3 separate regions of the Homo sapiens genome follow, and all the other regions are linked to region 1. The links are contacts of gene promoters, found by promoter capture Hi-C in blood cells and fetal thymus (Javierre and others, 2016). All regions are on one chromosome and are shown on one strand. The core of a region is centred on a gene start or on the middle of the fragment in contact, and the rest is flanking DNA. Distances in the headings are between cores, read along the strand shown. Region 1 holds the start of TTC23 (tetratricopeptide repeat domain 23). Region 2 has its middle 86 kb from the start of LYSMD4. Region 3 has its middle 43 kb from the start of LYSMD4.

Region 1 (4,053 bases), core at 1-2,500:
AAGATGAGGAGGACGTAACCTAGTCTCTGCCCTTCAAACACCCAAGGTTTATTTTGAGTAAAGATTGCTAAAAAGGTCAGGAACAATTTAGAGAGTTAAATACAATGACACTTCCTAGCCTGACTGAGTAGGCCGTCAATATGTATTTCTTCAAGACGAAAATTATTATGTCAGCGAAATAGCATGAAAGAGGGCTTTATGCTGTTAAAAATACTTGGAAGCATAGTTCGGAAACATTTTTAAAAGACACTTTTTAAAGTGTCTCATTAATATGACAAATTTCCTTCTGAAATGAAGATTTTAAAGTATAATCCTCTACTACAACCGCTGATATTTTTTGTTCTGTGGAAAGCCTGTCTATGAGTTTGCGAGGCTCCTTGTCAAGGAACTTTAACTTTATAATGAAGTAGTTTTTACAGTTGCTGACTTAATTATTCATAGAGACGAATAACCTAGAAAGCAGAGTTATATTAAATAAAAAACATTGGTTTTAAAACAAGGTATGAGTTATAATAAAAATTATCAGTTATCTATTAAATCTGGTCTTCAAGAGCTATTCAGGTATACAGCATGGTTGGTATATGTCATGTATTTCTAAGATAGTTTCGGAATACCTAAGAATTCGTGGCACTCAGAAATTTTTTGCTGGTCTTAAAATGAGGAAATCCACATTTTGTGTAAAAACAAAGATACGGTGTTTAATGGTCAGCCCAAATAATAAGACTTGCTGCTAATATATGAAGAGTTACACCCCCCAAAAAAGAAAAAAGATTAACAGTAGAACAGTTTTTTGAAAACAATGTTAGCCTCTTAGTTTTCATTTCTTTTTTTTAATGGGGAATACTGTTTTTCAGTGATTAATATCTGATATTTGATCATGAAAAATGAATCATGTTAAAATAACCTTCACCTCCTCCCCACATTGACACAAAAGTTACCAAGTGATTATATTTGATAATACTTTATGACCCCACTCTTGAAGTTCTCACAATTTGTAGAGAATCAATTCGCACGTTTTGTCTCTCTTAAAGGGGAAAAAAATCCTCTAAGCTGGTGATTTCACGTTCTTTGACAAACTTCAATATCAACAGGCAACGATACCACTTTAAGAAAATTCCAAGGAAAAGACCTCATTTTAAAATTCCCACCTCTGGCTCCCAAAGATTGGTTTGCAAACTTCGACAAAATACTCTTCTCCACTCGCTATTGGTGAGTGCTCTATCATTCATTCTTTTGCCTGGAGTTTTGTGAGGTACCCGCTTGCTTTATGGGAAAAGGCTGCTCCGGAACTGCCCTACTTTAGACTTTTTCATGGTTATCAATCTGTACAAAGAATCACCAAACTGATAAAGCAGGAACCAGAGGGCAAATCACGCTGCCAAGACAACTGTGTAATTCGCTCGAAAAAGAAACGGTGAGCCTCTCCAGCAGACTGGGTAAACTGGCAAGGGATTTTACGACATAGTTGGAGATTGGAGAGTTACAGAAACTTTTCCGGTTTTTTACAAGTTTTAAAGGAGTGATTGAGTGTCAAAGGAAAAGCAGAGAAAATACAGGCACAATTTAAAGACAGCAGGAAGAAGAGTGTTCAGAGAGCATTTTTCTCTTTAGGGTGAAGTTTGAAAGCATCATGCCCAGATTATCAGTGGATTTTTGAAAGGTAAAGGAGGCAAGATAATAAGATTAACTATAGATCATTTTCTACTTTAAGAAACTGTGCTTCGTTATTGTTGCTTAAGTGTGGATTTAGAAGGACATTTAGTAATATTGTAATTTTTATATGGATATTTTTGTTTATATATTGTCATACCTGGCATAATAGATAATATATCTATTAAAAGATATAGGAGAAAATAGAGTTGCTTGAACCCAAATTTTGTGTATATTTGTGGATTAGGGATTCCAGGGACAGATCTGCTAATGGCTGAACAAAACATACTACAGATACCTGAAGCAGAATCAGCATGTAAGGGTAAATTCTCAAAAAAATCCAGCAATCATATTTCAAAAATGACATTTTTAATTAAAACAAATACAAAAGAATTTATCAAGGAAACGTTGATGAACATGACTATTTCTTAAGTTGCCTGTGTTAATCCATATAGGGGAATATAAAGTAATAAAATCCAGCCCCTCAAGAGCAGGGACAAATGAGGCTCAGAACATTTAAACTAAAACTTCTGAACAGTTCTTAATGCCCGGATGACTGTTGTAGAGCACAGGTGCTTCAGGAGCTCAGCTCAATGTGAGATGAATTATTCAGAGAAGGCTTCACAGTATGGGTAAGACTCAATTTGGGCCTGAGCAATGGGCAGAATTTCAGAGAGAAAAATAAGGGAAGTGGCATCCCTACTAGTGAGTGAGTTGTTAGCAAATACATGCAGCCTGAGGAAGAGTTGGTTCTGACTGCGGCAGAAGGTTCATTTGGAAACTTTGGTTACAAATTTTAAAAAGCAGCATGAGAAATATAAAGAGCCGGAATTCCCAAAATCAGGGGTTTGGGTCCTGTGTTTGGAACAGGAGGCACCCCTTATGAAAGTAATATTTGAAGACAATAAAACTGACAGTGGAATTTAAGATGGCTAGACCAGAGCAGAGACCAGAAGCTAAGGGGCCCCATGCTGTGTAAATACTGGCACACAGGTTAGTAACCATGCTTCTTACCCGAATACATTTACCTTATCATTGTTGAATAATATAAATTTTGATGCACTTCTTTGTAGTCTTCGAAAGCATTGAGTTTACTTCTTTAAGATTTTTGGGGACCGCTGCCACACTGTCTTGGGGAGTCATGGTTGCCCCGTCTTTATAAAAGTCTTGTCATAATATGTATAAAAACCAGAATTACACATAAAACTGCGTTGTGGTTTCATAGCTATTTTTAACAGCTTTAATGAAGTATAATTTATATATTATAAAGTTCATTTGTCTTAAGGATATAACTCAATGATTGTTTTAGAAAATCACAACCATCACCACATTCCAATTTTAGAAAATTTTCATCATCCTAGAAAATTTAGAAAATTTTCATCATCCTAGAAAATTTAGAAAATTTTCATCATCCTAGAAAATTTAGAAAATTTTCATCATCCTAAAAAAATACTTTGTGCCCATTTGCAGGCAAGTCCTGGTTTCCTATCCCCAGCCCCAATCACTAAAAAACTTTCTGTCTATAAATTTACCTTTTCTGGGCATGTAAGTGGAATTACACATTATGCGATCCTTTGCATCTAGTTTCTTTTACTTAGCATAATGTTTTTGAGGTTCATCCATGTTGTAGTATGTCTCATTACTTCATTCCTTTTTATTGCTAAGTAATAATCCACATTTTATTTAACAGTACCAATTAACAGACATTTGGATTTCTTCTAGTATTTAAATATAGTGTTTAATTGTACTAATTGTAATTGTATTACAGTAAATACAGTACAGTATTTAGCATTATGAATAATGCTGCTATGAAGATGGGTACAAGTTTTTGTATGAACGTGTGTTTTCAGTTTTCTTGGGTGTATATCTACGAGTGGAATTACTGTCATATGGTAACTCTGGGTGTAACTTTTCAAGGTGTTGCACAACTGCTTTCCAAGGTGAATTTCCCATTTTACATTTCCACCAGAGTGTATGAGGGTTCCAATTTGTCCACATCCTCACCAACACTCCTTATGATCTGTCTTATTCATTGTAGTCATTCAGCTGGATTTTAAGTGGTATCTTATTACAGCTTTCATTTGCATTTTCCTGATGACTGACGATATGAAGCATCTTTTCATGTGCTTGTTGACTATCCATATATCTTCTTTTGTAAAATGTCTTTCAAATATTTTGCCTATTTTTTTAATTGAGTTGTCATCTTGTTACTGATTGTTTTTTGGTTTTTTTGGTTTTTGTTTGTTTGTTTGTTTGTTTGAGACTGGGTCTCGCTTTGTCGCTCAGGCTGGAGTGCAGAGTGCCACGATCTCGGCCCACTGCAATGTCCACCTTCCGGGTTCAAGCAATTCTTCTGCCTCAGCCTCCCGAGTAGCTAGGATTACAGGTGCCCACGACCACGCC
Region 2 (4,053 bases), core at 626-3,125, 570 kb before region 1:
AATACAGTTTTATGCCTAATTATATCAGGTGATAGTAAGTACTGTGTCCCCAAAACACTTACTCATTTTCTCAAACTATTATAAAACAGGGAAGGTGCATAAAGAGTGCTGGACATGGGACTGAAGATTCTGTTTTAAATATGGTGGCCAGGGAAGTCCTCACTGTGTAAGAACATTCCAACAAAGACTTGAAGGAGATGAGGGAAGTCATCAAGTGGATGGGAAAAAGAACACTCCCAGTAACAGGACCAGCAAATGCAAAGACCAGAGGAGAAAGACTGCTTTACTTAAGGGACAGCAAATAGGTCTCCCTGCTACAGCAGAGTAAATACAGTGGAAATGGTAGAAGAGTTTTTAGTTGTAAGGCAAGAAGGGGGACCAACCATGGAGAGTCTTAGATGTCATTGTGGAGATTTCCATTTTGCTGGAGGTGAAATGGAAGCCACTGAAGGCACTTGAAATGGAGGCTGATATGGTTCACAGCTTTAATAGTCTGCTGTCTGCTGAGATAAGAATTGACTATAGGACAAAGGGTAGATCTAGGTAGTGAGATGTTACTGCAGTCACCTAGGAAAGAGCTAGGATGATTTGAACTAGAGTGGTAGTAGTAAGAGGTGGTCATACTTTGAAAATATTTTTAAAGTAGAGTTGACAGGATTTGGTGATGAATTTGGCATGTGATGTGAGTCAAATTTCATAGCCTCAGCCAAACATCCCTATTTAATTACGTTTAATATAATGGAAAAGGTGGGGGAAATGGATTAAGAAAAGAAAGAAGTTTGGCATGGGAAACAGTAAGGTGAAGAAACCAGTCGGGATGTTAGATATCTAAATCTGAGTTCAGGAGTTTTGAATGCATACAAAATTTGATCGTTAGCATGGGGCTAGTATTTGAAACCATGAGACTGGACAAGATCATTTTAGTTTAGTGTATTTCCACAGATTATATTTCAAGCATCATGCTAGATACTTTAACGTTTGGCCATTTTAAAAGCCCACTGGTAAATTTCACAGGAATGAGGATTTGACTGACCTGTTTTTCTCAGCTGTCTGACCTCAGTAGGATGCATTATTGTATTGTATTTAATTCCCTATAAAATTCCAAAATATCAAAATAAGGCCTGTATTTATTAGCAGGATTTTTCAGATAGAACTATACTACTTAATTTCACAGAAATATCCTTCCCTGGGGTGATGATACTATTATATCACCAGTCATGAAGTCATGCTAACTTGTAGGCAACAATGGAGCTCACATTTTGATCTAAGCTAATTAGCATGCATTACTTAAATTATGAAAATGCACACTTTCAGGGGGCAGACAGATTTTATTAATTCTGAATTATGTCAAACTATCACTTAATAATTCTCAAGGGCCCAACTCTGGCAAAACCAGATGCTGCAGTGTATGTGTTTCCTATTCTCTTCCAACTTTTTTCATCATGTTTCATCAGCAAATGCTATGAAGTCTAATTAATTTAATTAATGGATCTCAGGGCCATTGGACAATGCATTTACATGAATTGCTCTGTGAAGGAGCTCTGTCTTGCTCTCTCTCTCTGCCCACCCTTTCTCCCCCGCTTTCTCTTTCAAGAGCAGAACATTTTGGTGAGCTCCAGTTAACTGGCTGAACTAAGCAGCGATCTCTTAGGTAATGATGCACTGCTAACAAACCTCAGCATAGACTATAACACTACCACTAAAGCTTCTGTTCATGTTGTTCTAGGGCTGATAAAATGGAATATTGTAATCTAGCTCTGAGGAAATTTGAGATTGTCTCATGTTTTCTCAGTTAAACCAGAAAATAATTAATTATAGGGAAGGGACAAGAACTGCCATGGCAGAGCCAGGCTGAGAAATAATTTCTGTTCACTCTCAATGTATTATCTGCTTTGTCCCTAGAGGCTCCCTTTTGTTACTCTTATATCAAAATCTCACTAAATTTTCCTGCCATCTCAACTCAAAAATCATACCTACAAAGAGCTAAAGTTTTATCTTTTTGCTTTTGCAAAAACTCTGTGCGAGCTATGAGAGTGTAAGCTTTATAGTTATATACAGATGTTTTTATTTATAATATTTCTCCTGCAAAACAGGATTAGAGAAAGTGAACCAAAAAGAACATGTAATAAGATGAATAATGAATAGAAAAATAAATTGCTCTAAAGACAAAGTAAAGGAAACTATAAAAGGGAGATGACTAGAACTATTTAGCAAGAAGAGACCTCATTCTTTCCATCAAATAGTGTGGTGTAATTTGCACAATGCACCCAATGGTTAATGAACACATATTTGTTGAGGATATCATTAATAAATAATACAACCAATGAAAAACTAATACAAAATATTTTTACTCTGCAGGAAGTAACTATTAGGTAGGTATTGTAAATTCTAACTTTAAAAGGTAGAGGAAAATATATATTGATCTGACTCATAAATTCAACAGGAAGACACAGAGTAACAATTACTGCAGGTGAATTTCAGCTCTCAGTCTATCTACCAACCAGTGTCACCAGGAACCTTCTTCAGACCCATGTATCCAACTGCGTATTTATCTTTTGCACCTGAATATCCCTCAGATATCTCCATTTAATTCATCTTCTTCCTCCAAACTGGACAGTATCCAAGCAGATCCAGAGAACTGTGAAGAGCTATTCTAGTCTCCGCCCTCTCCCCTGTTGCTGATCCAGTTAAGAGGGCCAAAGAATGTAGTTGAGAGGACATCAGCTCTGTATCTAGTAGCATTTAGTTTTAACCTCATCCCTTCACTTAAAATTGGCATGGCCTTCAGTAAGCGATTTAACTCCTCTGAATATCAACTGATAAAAGTAAAAATAAAAAAATTTACAAAATTAATTGTAGTGAGGATTAAAATATCATGTTTGGTACATCATGAGCTCTCGATAAACAGTTGTAGTATTGTTATTCAAACTGGTACACAGGCCTATCACTTCTCTTTCCTTTTAGATCTGTTTTTTTTTTTTTTCCTTCTGTTCTCACCTCTGAATGTCCCAACCCAATCTCTCTTCCTCTATCACCTTTTTAGGAAATCCATCCCCACCCCACTCACCCCACCACTCCTCACACTCCTTTCTCTCCTACCCTGGCCTCCACCACAGCTCCTCCATCCCCACCTGTAATCCAGCCTCTAAACCACTATCAGGGCTGCGGTTCTGAAGTGCAAATCTCATCATGTTGTACCTTATAATATCTTTGAATGACACCTATTTGTCTCATGATAAATTCTAAACTCTTTAGTTTTATGTGGACCATGACCATTTTTTATCTGACCCTGTCTGTCTCTCCCTAATTCTCATTTCTCTCCACCAAATACTCCACCCTTGTACTGAACAACGTGCCTCTACTTTCATCTCTTCATACTTATATTTTTTCCTTGATCCTTAACTTTGCTCACAATGTTCCTGCCATCTGGAATAGCATTTTCCCTACTGGCCTGGAAAATTTGACTATTCCTTTGTGGCGGAATTCAGTTTTCACTCCCCCGTGAGTGACCTTCTTAGGACAAATTGACAGTATCTTATATTGTAGTCCCACAGTCCAATAGGCAGTCTTCAAGTGTCCAATATGACAGTGCATGATATTTGTTGTTTATATGCCTATTTCCCCCACTGGCTTTGAGAAACTTGAGAGATTGTTGTAACCATTTGTATCTACAGTGTCTAGCAGAGCATGCATCTATTTGTGTTTTGAATGAGTGAGTGAATTAATGAATGATGAGAAAGCAATGACCTATGTTTTCTCTCTACCTCTTACACGAGATTATAAATAGACTGATTCAACTGAAGATTCCAGGTCCTATTCCTTTTGCTGTTGTTATCGTATACGTTAGCAAAAAGCTTCATCCTTTCCAAAAATTTCTTCAGTGGTAGCAATAAATTCAGTGTCTTCTGGAAGCAACATTGTGCTCTCTTTCTCTCTCTCTCTCTGATTTGCCTATTGCTACTTTGCATAGTATGTGTTTATGACTTTATCATTCGTTACAGTACATGTAATAGGAGCCCTGCTATTTCTTCATAAGTGGTTATGAAAAAATAT
Region 3 (4,053 bases), core at 419-2,918, 530 kb before region 1:
GTAGTAATTTGTAATAGCAGCAATGGGAAACTAACAAACATGTATGGGCAAAAAGGGGAAAAGAATCGTGCCAGTTGAGTTTGTCACTTTCTATCTGGAAAGCAAAAACCTTCAGAGAAACCCTACTGAGCTTTCACTTGCTTATATCCCCCTTTCCAGAATTAGGCTGCATGACCACTCTGAACCAACCACAAACAAAAAGAATTCAATTGTCATGGCACTGTTCAATTAGACAATCACAGTTCACCCCTTGGAGCTGAGACAGGGTATCATTTCCTTTCTAAGATCTACTGAACTCTCATTAGCTGGAAAAAAAATCAAATCCTACTGGAATAGAAGAAGGGGGTTGAAGACAAGTGGATTTTTAATACCTAGCTGATGTTGGGAGGCTAAGTATAAAAAGATATTCTGATGTTGGGTGTGTAGCAGATTGTGCCTGACACACTGCCCCATATTCTTTCCACTAACAAGTCTCATTGTTTTCTTTCAAAAATACATTTCAAATTTGTCTTATATCCACATGTCCACAACCACCATTCTCTTTTAATCTAACAACATCCCTCTTTTGAATTACTTAAATGACCAGTTAATTCACCTCCTAGAAACTGTTTTGCTTCCCACTCACCCTTATCTTATTTTTTTCCATTAGGCAGCCAGAAGAAACTCCTAAAAAATTAACTTATCCATTCTCTGCTTTTTATATTACCTAACCACTTCTTGTTGAAGTTAGGATTAAGCTCAAAATCCTTAAGTGAATTACCTCTTTTCCAACATTGCTGGAAGAGTAAAAGGTTCCTTAACAACATTCTTCTTTCCAGTTTTGGCCAGGTTTTTTTTCCCCCTGAAGTACCACTTTTTATATAATTAAAATTCAGTTTATGCACCAATTTGAATGAATACTTGATAAATGTCTCTACTTCTAAATTATAACTTCCATTAGAGCGGAAGTCAGGTACACTTTTACCCACTATTGTATTGCACTTAAACTAGAACTGCTGCTGAGTGAGTGAAAAATTAATCAATAAAACAAGAGCAAACAGTTCTCATCCTCAAGAACATTCTAATTCAGTAGGAAGAAAGAATGAGTAACTACAGTTGTGCCTAGCTTAATGATGGGGATACTGTATTAGTCTGTTCTCACGCTGCTAATAAAGATATATCTGAGACTGGGTAATTTATAAAGGAAAGAGGTTTAATGGACTCATAGTTCCACATGTTTGGGGAGGCCTCACAATCATGGCAGAAGGCAAAGGCACATCTTACATGGCAGCAGGCAAGAGAAGCTTTTGCAGGGGAACTCCCATTTACAAAACCACCAGATCTCCTGAGACTTATTTACTATCACAAGAATAGTATGGGGGAAACCTCCCTCATGATTCCATTATCTCCACCTGGCCCTGCCTTTGGCTTGTGGGGATTATTACAATTCAAGGTGAGATTTGGGTGAGGACACAGCCCAACCATACCAGACACATTGTGAGAAATGCATGTTTCTGTGATTTCATAATTGTGTGAACATCATGGGCAGACTTACACCAACCTAGATGATATACAGGCCGCTCCCCACCTAAGGCTCCATGGTGGAGCCTTTTGTCCTCAGGCTACAAACCTGTATGGCAGGTTACTGTACTGAATAGTGTAGGCAACTGTAACACAATGGTAAGTATTTGTGTCTCTAAATATAGAGAAGATACTGCAAAAATACAGTGTAAAAGATAAAAAATGGTACCTTATAGGGAAATTACCATGAATGGAGTTTTCAGGCCAAAAAGTTGCTGTGGGTGAGTCAGTGAGTGGTGAGTGAACGTGAAGGCCTAGAACACTATTGTATACTACTGCAGACTTTATAAATACTGTACACTTAGAATACCCTACAATTATTGAAAATATTTCTTTTTCTTTAATAATAAATTTACCTTAGCTTACTGTAACTTTTTACTTTATAATTTTGTTTTTTTAAACATTTTGACTCTTCTATAATAAATGTAGCTTAAAACACATTGTACTGTTATACACGATTTTTTTGTTGTTATATTCTTATTCTATAAGCTTTTATCTACTTTTTTTTTTTTTGAGGTGGAGTCTCTCTGTTGCCGAGGCTGGATGGCAGTGGCACGTTCTCGGCTCACCGCAAGCTCCGCCTCCCGAGTTCATGCAGTTTTCCTGCCTCAGCCTCCAGAGTAGCTGGGACCACAGGCGCCCACCACCACGCCCGGCTAATTTTTTTGTTTTTGTGTTTTTAGTAGAGACGGGGTTTCACCGTGTTAGCCAGGATGGTCTGGATCTCCTGACCTCGTGATCTGCCCGCCTCGGCCTCTCAAAGTGCTGGGATTACAGGCGTGAGCCCCCGCACCAGGCCACGTCTTTAAAAAAAAAAACATTAGCCGGGCGTGGTGGGGACGCCTGTAATCCCCGCTACTCGGGAGGCCGAGGCGGGCGGATCACAAGGTCAGGAGATCGAGACCATCCTGGCTAACACGGTGAAACCCTGTCTCTACTAAAAAATACAAAAAATTAGCCAGGCGTGGTGGCGGGCACCTGTAGTCCCAGCTACTCGGGAGGCTGAGGCAGGAGAAGGGCGTGAACCCGGGAGGCGGAGCTCGCAGTGAGCCGAGATCGCACCACCGCACTCCAGCCTGGGCGACAGAGCGAGACTCCGTCTCAAAAACAAACAAGCAAACAAAGAAACAAACTTAGTGAAACAAAAATTCATCCCCAAAACTATTTACTTGAAAAACACTAGTAAATAAATAATAAATTGTTTTTCAAATATAAACAAGACAGAAATAAAGGAGATGCTATTACTATGAGGAAAGAGGAAAATGATACAACTAAAGATAAAATAGATAAAACATTATATAAAATGTTAAATAAAATTTTATTCATATACATTTGAAAATTTGATAGATTATATATATTTGATAAGTCAATAAAATTAATGTATATGTGTATATGAAGTTACAAGGCAAAGTAATTTGAATAGATGAGATCTGTTAAATCTACAATTAATGGATAATTTTTTGTTTTCTTTACAACTTCATAACCTCCTGTAAGTTTTTAGAAAGTTTATTTTTTCTCTATGTTCTGGCACTGTTTAAAATCCAGAAGTGGGAAATAGGGAGTTACTGCTAATTGGTACAAGGTTTATTTTTTAAGACTATAAAAATATTCTAAAAATAGATTATGGTGGTATTTGCACAACTGTATTAACATACTAAAAACATGAAATGGTACACTAAACATGTGAACATCATGGAATGTAAATTATATCCCAATAAAACTGAAAGAAGATACATACACATTATCTGTCTCTACCAAATTCTCACTATGAACATATATGTAAATACTAGATAGTACTACCAACTCAACAGCAGCAATTTATTGATAGAATAAGACATCCTGACTAAATAGAGTTTATCTCAGGAAAGCAAGCAATGATGAACTTTAGAAATCCTCATGGAAATATACTTAAAACAATATTTAAATGATATTCTGAAAGATATCTAAAATTACTTAGCAAAAGCAAATGTAAATGTCCATTCTTTATTTGATAATGAAACATTTAACTCAATTTAGAATAAAAGGAAATGACTTAATCTTATAAACATATGCAGCAAAAACCTACTTAATTAAAAAAAGGACAAATTTTAATAAAGTCAGAAATGAAGAAATGATTTACCATTACCATTGAAAATGTCCTCTGTTTATACAAATACAATTATATAATGTAATTATATATCTTACATTACATATATAATGTAACTATATCTTACATTACATATATAATGTAACTATATCTTACATTACATATATAATGTAATCTTACATTATATATATAATGTAATTATATATCTTACATTATATAATTATACATTATATAATTTTATTTGTATAAACAGAGAACATTTTCAATGGTAACAGTAAACCAATTCTTCATTTCCAACTTTATTAAAATTTGTCCTTTAAGTAGGTTTTTGTTGCATATGTTTATAAGATTATATATAATAATACATATATACTGTAAGATATATAATTAATAAAGATATAAATATA

Evidence for each region. Contacts are between HindIII fragments. The CHiCAGO score rates a contact against its expected background, and 5 or more counts as called.
Region 2: a contact is called between a fragment that was not itself captured here and the fragment with the promoter of TTC23 in region 1, in 5 of 17 cell types (total B cells, activated CD4 T cells, naive B cells and 2 more). The highest score is 11.6, in total B cells.
Region 3: a fragment that was not itself captured here is called in contact with the fragment with the promoter of TTC23 in region 1 in 1 of 17 cell types (total B cells); the score reaches 5.2 in total B cells.

What each region holds. Positions count from the first base shown.
Region 1 is chr15:99,246,778-99,250,830 of GRCh38, reverse strand. TTC23 (tetratricopeptide repeat domain 23) reads left to right here and starts at 1,250. Exons shown (of 14, transcript NM_001288615.3): 1 at 1,250-1,660. The HindIII fragment of the contact is 13,098 bases long and covers 1-4,053 here.
Region 2 is chr15:99,817,701-99,821,753 of GRCh38, reverse strand. It overlaps the pseudogene LOC400464. Among named protein-coding and RNA genes, the nearest start is that of LYSMD4, 86 kb to the right of the region's middle. The HindIII fragment of the contact is 335 bases long and covers 1,708-2,042 here.
Region 3 is chr15:99,774,854-99,778,906 of GRCh38, reverse strand. No RefSeq gene overlaps it. Among named protein-coding and RNA genes, the nearest start is that of LYSMD4, 43 kb to the right of the region's middle. The HindIII fragment of the contact is 766 bases long and covers 1,286-2,051 here.